2 separate regions of the Homo sapiens genome follow, and region 2 is linked to region 1. Evidence: promoter capture Hi-C in human tissues and cell types (Jung and others, 2019). All regions are on one chromosome and are shown on one strand. The core of a region is centred on a gene start or on the middle of the fragment in contact, and the rest is flanking DNA. Distances in the headings are between cores, read along the strand shown.

Region 1 (4,681 bases), core at 871-3,370:
GCATTTTTCTTCTCTACATCCATGCTAACTTAATTTTTAAATTATCTATTAGCTTTCTGAATTCGTTAGCAATATGAATCTTTTCATGTTTTCCAGTGTCATACAAATACAACTGTAAAAGGCCTCTGAAGGCATCGTCAATAAAGAGAGGCAAGTTGCCTTTTCTTATTACTCATAGAAAGGAATAGAGATAAAAGTACCCTCTTAGAGTTTGGCCTTGCATTGACGGTTTTAACTCACTTCTCATTTTATGATTGCATTTCCCATTCTATTTATTGCTTCAAGTGATATATGAGTTAAATTCTTATAAGAAGTGAAGTTTGCCAATTCCATAATCTAGAGTAAAAGACCTTTTGAGGGACAGCTGATTCCTGAGATCTTTATCGGCTCAACCAAACACAAATCTGCCACCACAATCCAGTTAAATGTGATGTTTCCACACTATACAATTCTGTCAGCTGTATTATATTTCCTACTCAAATACTTTTGAGAGGAACTACAGTGCTTTAACACTTAAGGCATTTATAAAGCCACATGAAGAGTATTTAACCTATAAATGTTTTCATTTGTTTTCTGCTTTAATTATCTAATATAACATGAACACCAGGTTAAAATTCCTTGGATGCTTTTGAATAACATATATAAATATTTTAAGGAGTTTATTAGGTATAAAACCCTAAGTCATTAAAATGCTAAAACAATTATATTTACAATAACTTTGAACACTTAGCAAAACACCTTATCTAACTGCAAAATTCTTTTTACTGAAAATGAGAGATATCACTATGAAATCTAAACATTTCTTTTTACCATTTTTGTGAATGAATCTATTACTTGTTTATTTCTCAGACTGTAGATAATGGGATTTAGCAAAGGAATTATGATTGTATAAAAGACAGAGTCTATCATATCTTGGTCATCTGCTTGTGGAGATGCAGGGCGCAAATACATGAAGATAAGTGGGCCATAATATAAAGAGACAGATAAGAGATGGGCTCCACAGGTGGAAAAGGCTTTCCTTACGCCTCTAACAGACTTCTTTTTTAGGATTGTGAAAAGAGCAAATGTGTAAGAATTAAGAACTGTCACAATGGTGAATACCTGAATTGAGCCAGACAAAATAAAAACCATTAGAAAATTAATAGAAGGGTCAGTACAGGAAATCATAAACAGTGGTATAATATCACAGTAAAAATGATGTATTATGTTAGAATTGCAGAAGGTTAATCTGAATATAAGGACTTCATGAATTAAGGCATGGAGGAAGCCACCTAAAAATGAGAAGGCTAACAGCCGTATGCATAGTGAATTGTTCATAATCACTGGATATAGTAAAGGTTTGCATATGGCTACATAGCGATCATATGCCATTGTTGCCAAGAGAAAACATTCTGTAGTTCCACCAAATGCAAAGGAAAAAAATTGAATCATGCATTCAGACAGAGATATCATCCTGTTTTTGGCCAAGAAATTAACCAACATTTTGGGAGTTACTGTGGAAGATATCCAAGCATCAACAAAGGCTAAACTCCCAAGAAAAAAGTACATGGGGATGTGAAGTTGTGGGTCATTCCAGATAAGAGCAATCAGACCAAGGTTCCACACAATAGTGATGAGATAGATCACCAAGAACACCAAGAACAGGGGCATTTTCCACTCTGGCTGATATGTAAGTCCTGTGAGAACAAACTCTGTCAGCAATGTTGTATTATCCTGTTCCATGTCCTCATTCGACATCCCTGAAATGAAATGCAGTAAATGTAAAAGAGCATTCACTAAGACTTATACAGCAAATACTGGGGGAGGGAAGTTGATAGAAAAACATACTCTTATTACAATACCCTTTTAATTTTCTTTCATATTCCTGTAATAGATGGAAACTGTTTTGGGAAATATAAGAAATCAAAATAAATGCAATTATTTTAATTCTAAAAATGTGATCAAATAATCTACTTTTAAAATGCAGATGATAGAAATGCATGTAATGTGTGTTAACTTAAGAAAATCACTATTTGTAAATTTAGAAAAGGAGAGAAGACTTATTTCTTATAAGGGGTTACAGCCTGCAAGGTGGCCATCAAGTGTGCTGGGAAGCATGCCTCTGGCCAAGACCAGAAACAGGCACATCAAAGGAGGAGGGCTTGAGGTAGGAGCTTTAGGCTAAATAAGTTGGCTAAATATACATATTCAACAGGTTACGGGAGGATCTATGAGTATTCATGAAGGTAGCCTTGGCACATGCATATTGAACATGTATGTAACATACAACCCATGTTCACATTGGAGTGGAGACTTAACATTTAAATTTGTTACAGTTAGGCCCTATACATCAAAAGGTCTTCTCAGGACATGAAGGCCCATAAATGCACTGTCTCTGTAAACCAGCCAGAACCAGTCCGTGGTCAGTTTTCCTCTTATCTGGAGAAAGTTACTGACATCAGTCTCTTGTCCAATCAAAGCTGTAGTTATGTCTGGTAGCAGGGGTTCAGTTACTGAGCATCTGGTGCAGCTGCAAATTGTTTTAATCCTGCTTGTCTTGAGGCCAGTGCCTGTTTAGCTACTAGAGAAAAAGAAAAACCTTGTGGCAGTTAGAACACAGTTTATTCTTTAAGTGTAGAGGTGCCTGACTTAAACCTTGCCTGGTGTGGCCTTAGGTTCTGTTTATAATTTGGAATCTTATTGTCACAAAGAATATGTTCTGTCAGTCTTATAATCTCTATCTTAACATTAATACCGGTCAGTTGTCATGTCTAAATTGCAAAAGAGAGGAAGTATAACAAGGCACATCTGACTTCCCACCCTGTCATGGCTGAGAACTAAGTTTTTACAGTTTTTCTGGAGAACTTTTGGCCAAGAGGGGGTTCGTTCTGTTGATGGGGGGCTTTGAATTTTAAGTTTGCAAGTGCCTAGTCCATGTGTATTATAATCTTGCAAATAATGAGGATGAAGAAATAGATTCTAAAGCATTCAGAAAGTAGTGTCACTAGGACTTAGTCACATATTTGATAGAAAAGTAGTATTCAGTGAAGGAAAAAGGAGTCACTTTGTGAGTAGGTAGATTGTCATTCAAAATAGAGACTGAGAACTCAGGGGCATTGACAAGTTTGCAGTGTGAGCATGCCTTGAATATGTAGGTGAGATGTTTGGTATTAGTAATACAATTCTACTAGAGTGATAGAAATAACTTGGGAGTCACTGGAGTAGTTGAAGGCATAGTAATGGATGTCTTACCTATTGGAGAGTACATTAAGAAAAGAAAAGCATAGCACCAAAAATACTTGATAGTATAATGACCTAATTTCCTTTGGGTATATACCCAGTAATGGGATTGTTGGGTCAAATGGTAGCTTTGTTTCAAATTGTTGAGAAATCTCCAGGCTGCTTTCCACAGTGGCTGAACTAAAGTATTTCCACCAACAGTGTATAAGCCTTTCCTTTTCTCCACAGCCTCATCAGCATGTTTTGTTTTTTAATAATAGCCATTATGACTGGTGTGAAATGGTATCTCATTGTGATTTTGATTTGCATTCCTCTGATGATTAATGATGAGCATTTCTTTTTTATGTGTGTTGACTGCCTGTATGTCTTCTTTGGAGAAGGATCTGTTCATGTCCTTTGCTTATTTGTTAATAGGGTTACATTTTTTTGCTTGCTGATTTGTTTAAGTTCCTTATAGATTCTGATATTAGACCTTTATTGGATGCATAGTTTGCAAATATTTTCTGTCATTCTGTAGGTTGTCTGTGTACTCTATTGATGATTTCTTTTGCTGTGCAGAAGTTCTTTACCTTAATTAGGTCACACTTGTCAATTTTTGTTTTCATTGCAATTGCTTCTGAGGACTTAGCCGAAAATTCTTTGCTAAGGCTGATGTTGAGAAGAATACTTCCTAGGTTTTCGTCTAGGATTTTTACATTTTGAAGTCTTACATTTAAATATTTAATCCATCTTGAATAAATTTTTGTGTATGATGAAAGGAAAGGATTCAGTTTCATTCTTCCACATATGGCTAGCCGCCATGACAGCACCGTTTACTGAATAGGGTATCCTTTCTCTGTTGCTTGTTTTTTGTCAGCCTTGTTGAAGATCAGATTATTCCAAGCGTGTGGCTTAATTTCTGAGTTTGCTACTCTGTTCCATTGGTCTATGTGTCTGTTTTTGTAACAATACCATGCTGTCTTTGTTGTTAAAGTCACATGCACTCCTATGTTCATTGCTACACTATTCACAATGGTAAACACATGGAATCAATCTAGGTGTCCAGCAGGGGTGGATTGGATTTTTAAAATGTGGTACATATACAAGATGGAATACTACTCAGCCATAACAAAGAATGAGATCATGTACTTTGCAGCAGCATGGATGCAGTTGGAGGCCATAATCCAAAGCAAACCGACACAGGAGCAGAAAACCAAATGACACACGTTCTTATTTACAAGTGGGGCTAAACATTGAACACACATGGACATAAACATGAGAACAATAGACACTTTGGACTAGTACATGGGAGACGGAGGGGAGAATGGGTGGAAAAACTATTGAGTACTCTGCTCACTAACTGCATGCAATATACCCATGTAACAAGCCTGCATATATTCTCTCTATATCTAAAATAAAAGTTGACTTTTTTTAAAAAAAAGAAAAACAGCTTGAGGAGTTATATTGAAAGGTAATATAGGGA
Region 2 (4,681 bases), core at 1,447-3,946, 230 kb after region 1:
ATATTTACACAACAGCCCTCTTGAGTTGTAAAGGTTGCCTCTAACATTTTGCAAATGAAAACGTCCATAAGTCTCCCTGTATAAAGGGGTACATTTCATTCTTTGTGGATTTTTATGGTTTGTTCATGGCTTCCAAGTCAAAGGTTTCCTGCTCTGCAGCACTGTAGTAACTTGAAACTCATCTCCAAAGATATTGCTCAAGGGTATGGAGGAAATGTTATATAGTGCTGAATTTTGTTTTGTAAATAGTGAAAGCACAAAACTAGTTTTTTTTCATTTAAAAATCAGTTTTAGAGCAGTGTGGAGTTGCATAAGAAGTAAATACCTGAGTTCAGTGAGAGCTACATAAGAGCAAATTAAATTACCTATCGATTCAAGGAATTTCATATATCACCCAAATAGAAGGTCACATACAGCCTGAGTGCTCCCCTCAGTGATACTCTGGGGCTCCTGGTCCCATCACAACACATAGAGGGAGGAAAACTTCTAGGCCACCCTCTGCCTAGCCATGCTGCAGGCCATGCCCCAGTGTTATGCAGGAAAGACTGGTTCCTTTCTACACTCTAAAACAAGACTCTGGCTAGAAGACTTCCCTCCCTCAGGCTCTATTAAAACTATCTACAAACCTCTGAAACTCCAAATTGGAGCCTGTAACAACAAAATTGGGATATAGTTACCTGACTGCTTCCCTTTGCTCTCTATCCACTTACTCTTCTCCCCTCACCACTAAGTGAGAAAATATGGGCTCATTTTTTACTTCTCTTACTTTGTATTCTCCTTGTGCGATGAAGAAACCAGGCTTAGCCTAGCAGACATAGCCATATTTACAGTATAGAACTCTAATCTCTAAGACTTCCAGTTCATTTCTTAATATACTAAAAATCTGTGTAAAATAATGTAATATTCCTTCAAGACAAATTCCTGTTTTTGAAGTCAGAAGAGGAATTCCTTTTTTTCTCTTTGCATTACTTCTACAACAATTTAAAATATATTCCCAGACAGATAGAACCCTTATGCAAACTATGGAACCAGCTCTATACTCAGAGAGGCAACTGATAAAAGAAAATTAATACTTTTCATTCTCTTCCTCCCCATTACTTTCTCTCCTTAGTAAACATGAGTCCATTCAAAAGACTCTTACTCTTTTTTAGGGTAAGAGTCTTTTGAATGGACTCAAGTTTGCTAAGTTTGCTTACCTTGCTTCTAGAAAGACCTGAGTTGAATTTTCTACTATGTTCTGTTGTAGTTTGGCTAAGTAAAATTGGTTACTGGATGAAAGTCTTTTCTCCTACTAGGAAGCTCCCTCCATCCACAGTATAATGCATCCCTGTCCCAGGAATTCCAGCTACATGGTCAGCAGGGCCTCCCTTGTGTAGGTATGAGCATAGGGTGGACCCACTGGAGGCTGAGCAGTTATCTTTGTAATGGTGTCAGAAAGTGTAGGCTGTCTCCTCAATCTTTTCTTCTCTTTCTCCTCTCTCATATGCTCATGTTCACTTTCAAGTTGTAGTTCCATCTCTGCCTCAGTTGCCTAGCTTGTGTGGAAATAGGTGGATGAGCTGATTCTTGCACGATTCATGTGATGTCCCTTCCCAATCTGCCAGGATCTCTCATGTTGGCCTTGGCTCCTGTGAGACAAGCTGCAGGTTCTATTTCTGACTCAGCTAGGGACTCTGAATATGTCCTCCCACACCTAGTCTCTACAGCATGTCCCAGGCCATCACTTATGAACTGAGTTATCACTATTGGACTTGGGCTTTTCTCAGTGAAAACAACTCTCCAAAAGTCCAGAGTTTAAGAAGAGGGGTTAGTCGATTGTCCCGTATCCTATTACTTCCGATCCATTCTCTCATGGGTCATGACCTCAGCCTGGAGATGACCGGAGTCTGTGATTCTAATCAATGATTTTGTTAAGCAGTTCATGGAATAGATATAGCAAGAGCTGTCATGCTCTAAATGACAGAAAATTAACTTGACTAATTTTAATTTTTTCATGTAAACCTCTGAGATGAATATGAGAATATGGAGCAGGGAAAGGCCTGTGATCTTTTGGGAGTAAAGTGAAGGTCTCTGTCCTACTAATACTGTCTGACTCTTCTGGGCTTGGCATGGTGCCAGCTTTTACAGCCAAAGTCAGTGCCTATTGGAACTATTGATCTGGTCAACTAGTATGGGTAGGGTCCCAGCTGCCCTCCAAGGCTGTTCTGACTCTCTTGGGTCTCATTGATGTGGTCACCCCTCAGGGTCTCTCTTATGTCCTCCACCTACATGTCCCAACCCACCTGTTGCATGAGTGAGTCTCTTGGCTTCTTTCTGTCGCTGCAGGAATTTGCAGGTCCTGGCCATGCAAGATGGTGATGGGGACCAGCCTCTAAAGCTTAACCTTCAAGGGTCTGCTGCCTACGTACTTTGCAAACCAAGTTTACTTTGAGGTAGCCAGGTAAGGAAGGAGCAGAGCCAGAAATGATTTCTAGTGCCATAAATTGGAATCTGGACAAAACACACTCTTTTCCAAGTCTACCTTTGATGTACGCAATAATGCTCCTGCCACATATGTACACATCTTAATTCCCAGAACCTGTGAATATGTTAGGTTACCTGGCAAAGGGGAATTCATGCTTCAGAGGTAATTAAGGTTGTATGAAAGAAACTGAGGTAACTAAGGTGCAGGCATTCTAAAGTGGAGCTAGGAGATTGTGAGAGAATTGCACTAACACCTCTAAAAGTCAAACCACAGATTGTGCCAACGGACTTGGATGAACAATGGAAGTTAGTGTCTGCCAGTCTTCAACATTTCTCACCTGGGAGTGCCCTAATTAACTAACCAATTAGTACAGCTCTGTGATTTGGGATTTCTGCTCAGCCAATGAACTGCCTCTTTAAGGGACATGATTCAGGACTCAGACATAAGTAATTTAAAAGTCTGCTCTTCAGGCTATCTTGTTAAAAGGTCAAGTACTAGATTTTTCCCACCTCAGAAACTATGAAAAAAAATGTTAAAATAAGAAATTAATTTCCATTGTTTAATATTTGCAAAACTATTGTCCCCTTTGACTATATAGCTGCCTGTGGCTGTTTTCCTCTCGGGGAGTGTGAGGATGTCAGTCCTGCTCTATGTGAATCTAGCTGAGGAAAGCATGTAGAATGTAGTACTCTGGTCTCTAGGTCTCAACCCAAATCAGTGGGGATTTTTCTTGAAATAATATAGGTGTAATGATGAGAGAGAAAGGTTATACATTGACATACGGCCACTATGTAGGCAAGACTAATCAGCCTGTATGGCATATTACATATAAAATTAGAACACTTTGTCGCTGGGGTTGACTATAGAGAGATGGAGACAGGAACTCCTGCAGAGATTCTGCAGCCACAGGGTACACCTGCTTAAAATGGAGTCCCCACAGCAGAAGGCACAGCTCAGATGCAATGAGAGGAACCGGGTTCTGAAAAAACTGAACCCTAACAAACTATTCCTAAAGCCACTGTGCCTCATTTGGGGCTTTGGGTTATATCATTCAACAAACTGCCATTTCTTCACTTTTTTTTAAAGCCAGGGTAAAAGCAATGTATTATGCATATGGAAAAATCTTTCTTGAGTATTTTCTCAAGAGAATACTCTCTTGAGTATTCTCAAGAGTCTAAGTAATAAAAGTAAGGAGGTCAAAGTTTGCCTACTCATGAAAGGGCCAGATAGAATATATACACAATGTAGGTAAGAAAAAAAATTAGCTTAATATATTTAACTGACAGTTGATCAAGCACACCTGCTGGTTCAGGCAGGTGTCAATGCCAGAAAACACTATTCAGGTAGGATATGTGTGTCAGGAATGCAGTGCTCAGTAGGACTACTCAATAAATTAAAAAGTAAAAGTTTTAGAAGAACTCAGAAATTTTCTAACTATATTGCAGAAATTTGAATTACTTTTAGTATTTTTGTTGTTACATTTACATATCTTTCAATGGAGGCAATGAAACATGTTACTTTTCAAAATTGCTTTTAAACCAAATGGAAATCTTAGTTTTAAATGTTTTAAGAGGATATGTGTTGTCATATTTGGCCTAACAGTATTATTTTTATTAACATTCTGATATATTATTATAAATATCTGCTAAAGAGAAAGTTTGAAAAATGCCTTGTTCAAGAATTATTTAGAAGTGCATGAATACTTTGAACACTTTTTAAATTATATAGGTGGGGTCTTCCTTTAAATAACTGCAAGTAAGTTCTAAAACATGTATGTCTGTATTTCATGTAGTTCATTCATGTTACAAAAACTTGTTACTAAGTCTTTGTAAAATGAATGAACTCTTGTGTTTCATTCATGTTACAAAAACAGTAATGTGGCATTATAATTTCAGTTTGAACTTCATCCTTGAGTATGTACTTAAAACAACAACAAAAATGTGGTGTTTGTCCTTAAATGCTCATTAACTATTTTAATGATCAGAATAACTTATAACTAAGACAAGAATATTTAGTCTAAATTTTTTTATTCATTCACTTAACATATTGTGTCCCTACTATGTGTAAAACACAGAAACAATTATTACGATTTGTTTTAACAGAAAGGAAATGGAAAGAATTATGAAAGTGTTCTCCAAAAATATTTCTTTATCATTGTTCTAAGTGTACCTAAAACTTCTTTGTTTTTCATACTGTAAATAAAGGAGTCTGCAGAGG

The links. The method cuts DNA at HindIII sites, captures the fragments that hold promoters and counts their contacts. A contact is called where the count stands out against the background at its distance.
Region 2: a contact is called between a fragment that was not itself captured here and the fragment with the promoter of OR5H2 in region 1, in 4 of the 25 tissues and cell types used here (bladder, lymphoblastoid cells, mesenchymal stem cells and 1 more).

What each region holds. Positions count from the first base shown.
Region 1 is chr3:98,279,944-98,284,624 of GRCh38, reverse strand. It overlaps OR5H2 (olfactory receptor family 5 subfamily H member 2), which reads right to left and starts at 2,120. Exons shown (of 1, transcript NM_001005482.2): 1 at 555-2,120. The coding sequence starts at 1,722. The coding sequence ends at 793. The region is part of intron 1 of LOC105373999 (a long non-coding RNA gene); the gene reads left to right. The HindIII fragment of the contact is 8,138 bases long and covers 1-4,681 here.
Region 2 is chr3:98,053,667-98,058,347 of GRCh38, reverse strand. It overlaps the pseudogene OR5BM1P. Among named protein-coding and RNA genes, the nearest start is that of GABRR3, 21 kb to the right of the region's middle. The HindIII fragment of the contact is 5,422 bases long and covers 1-4,681 here.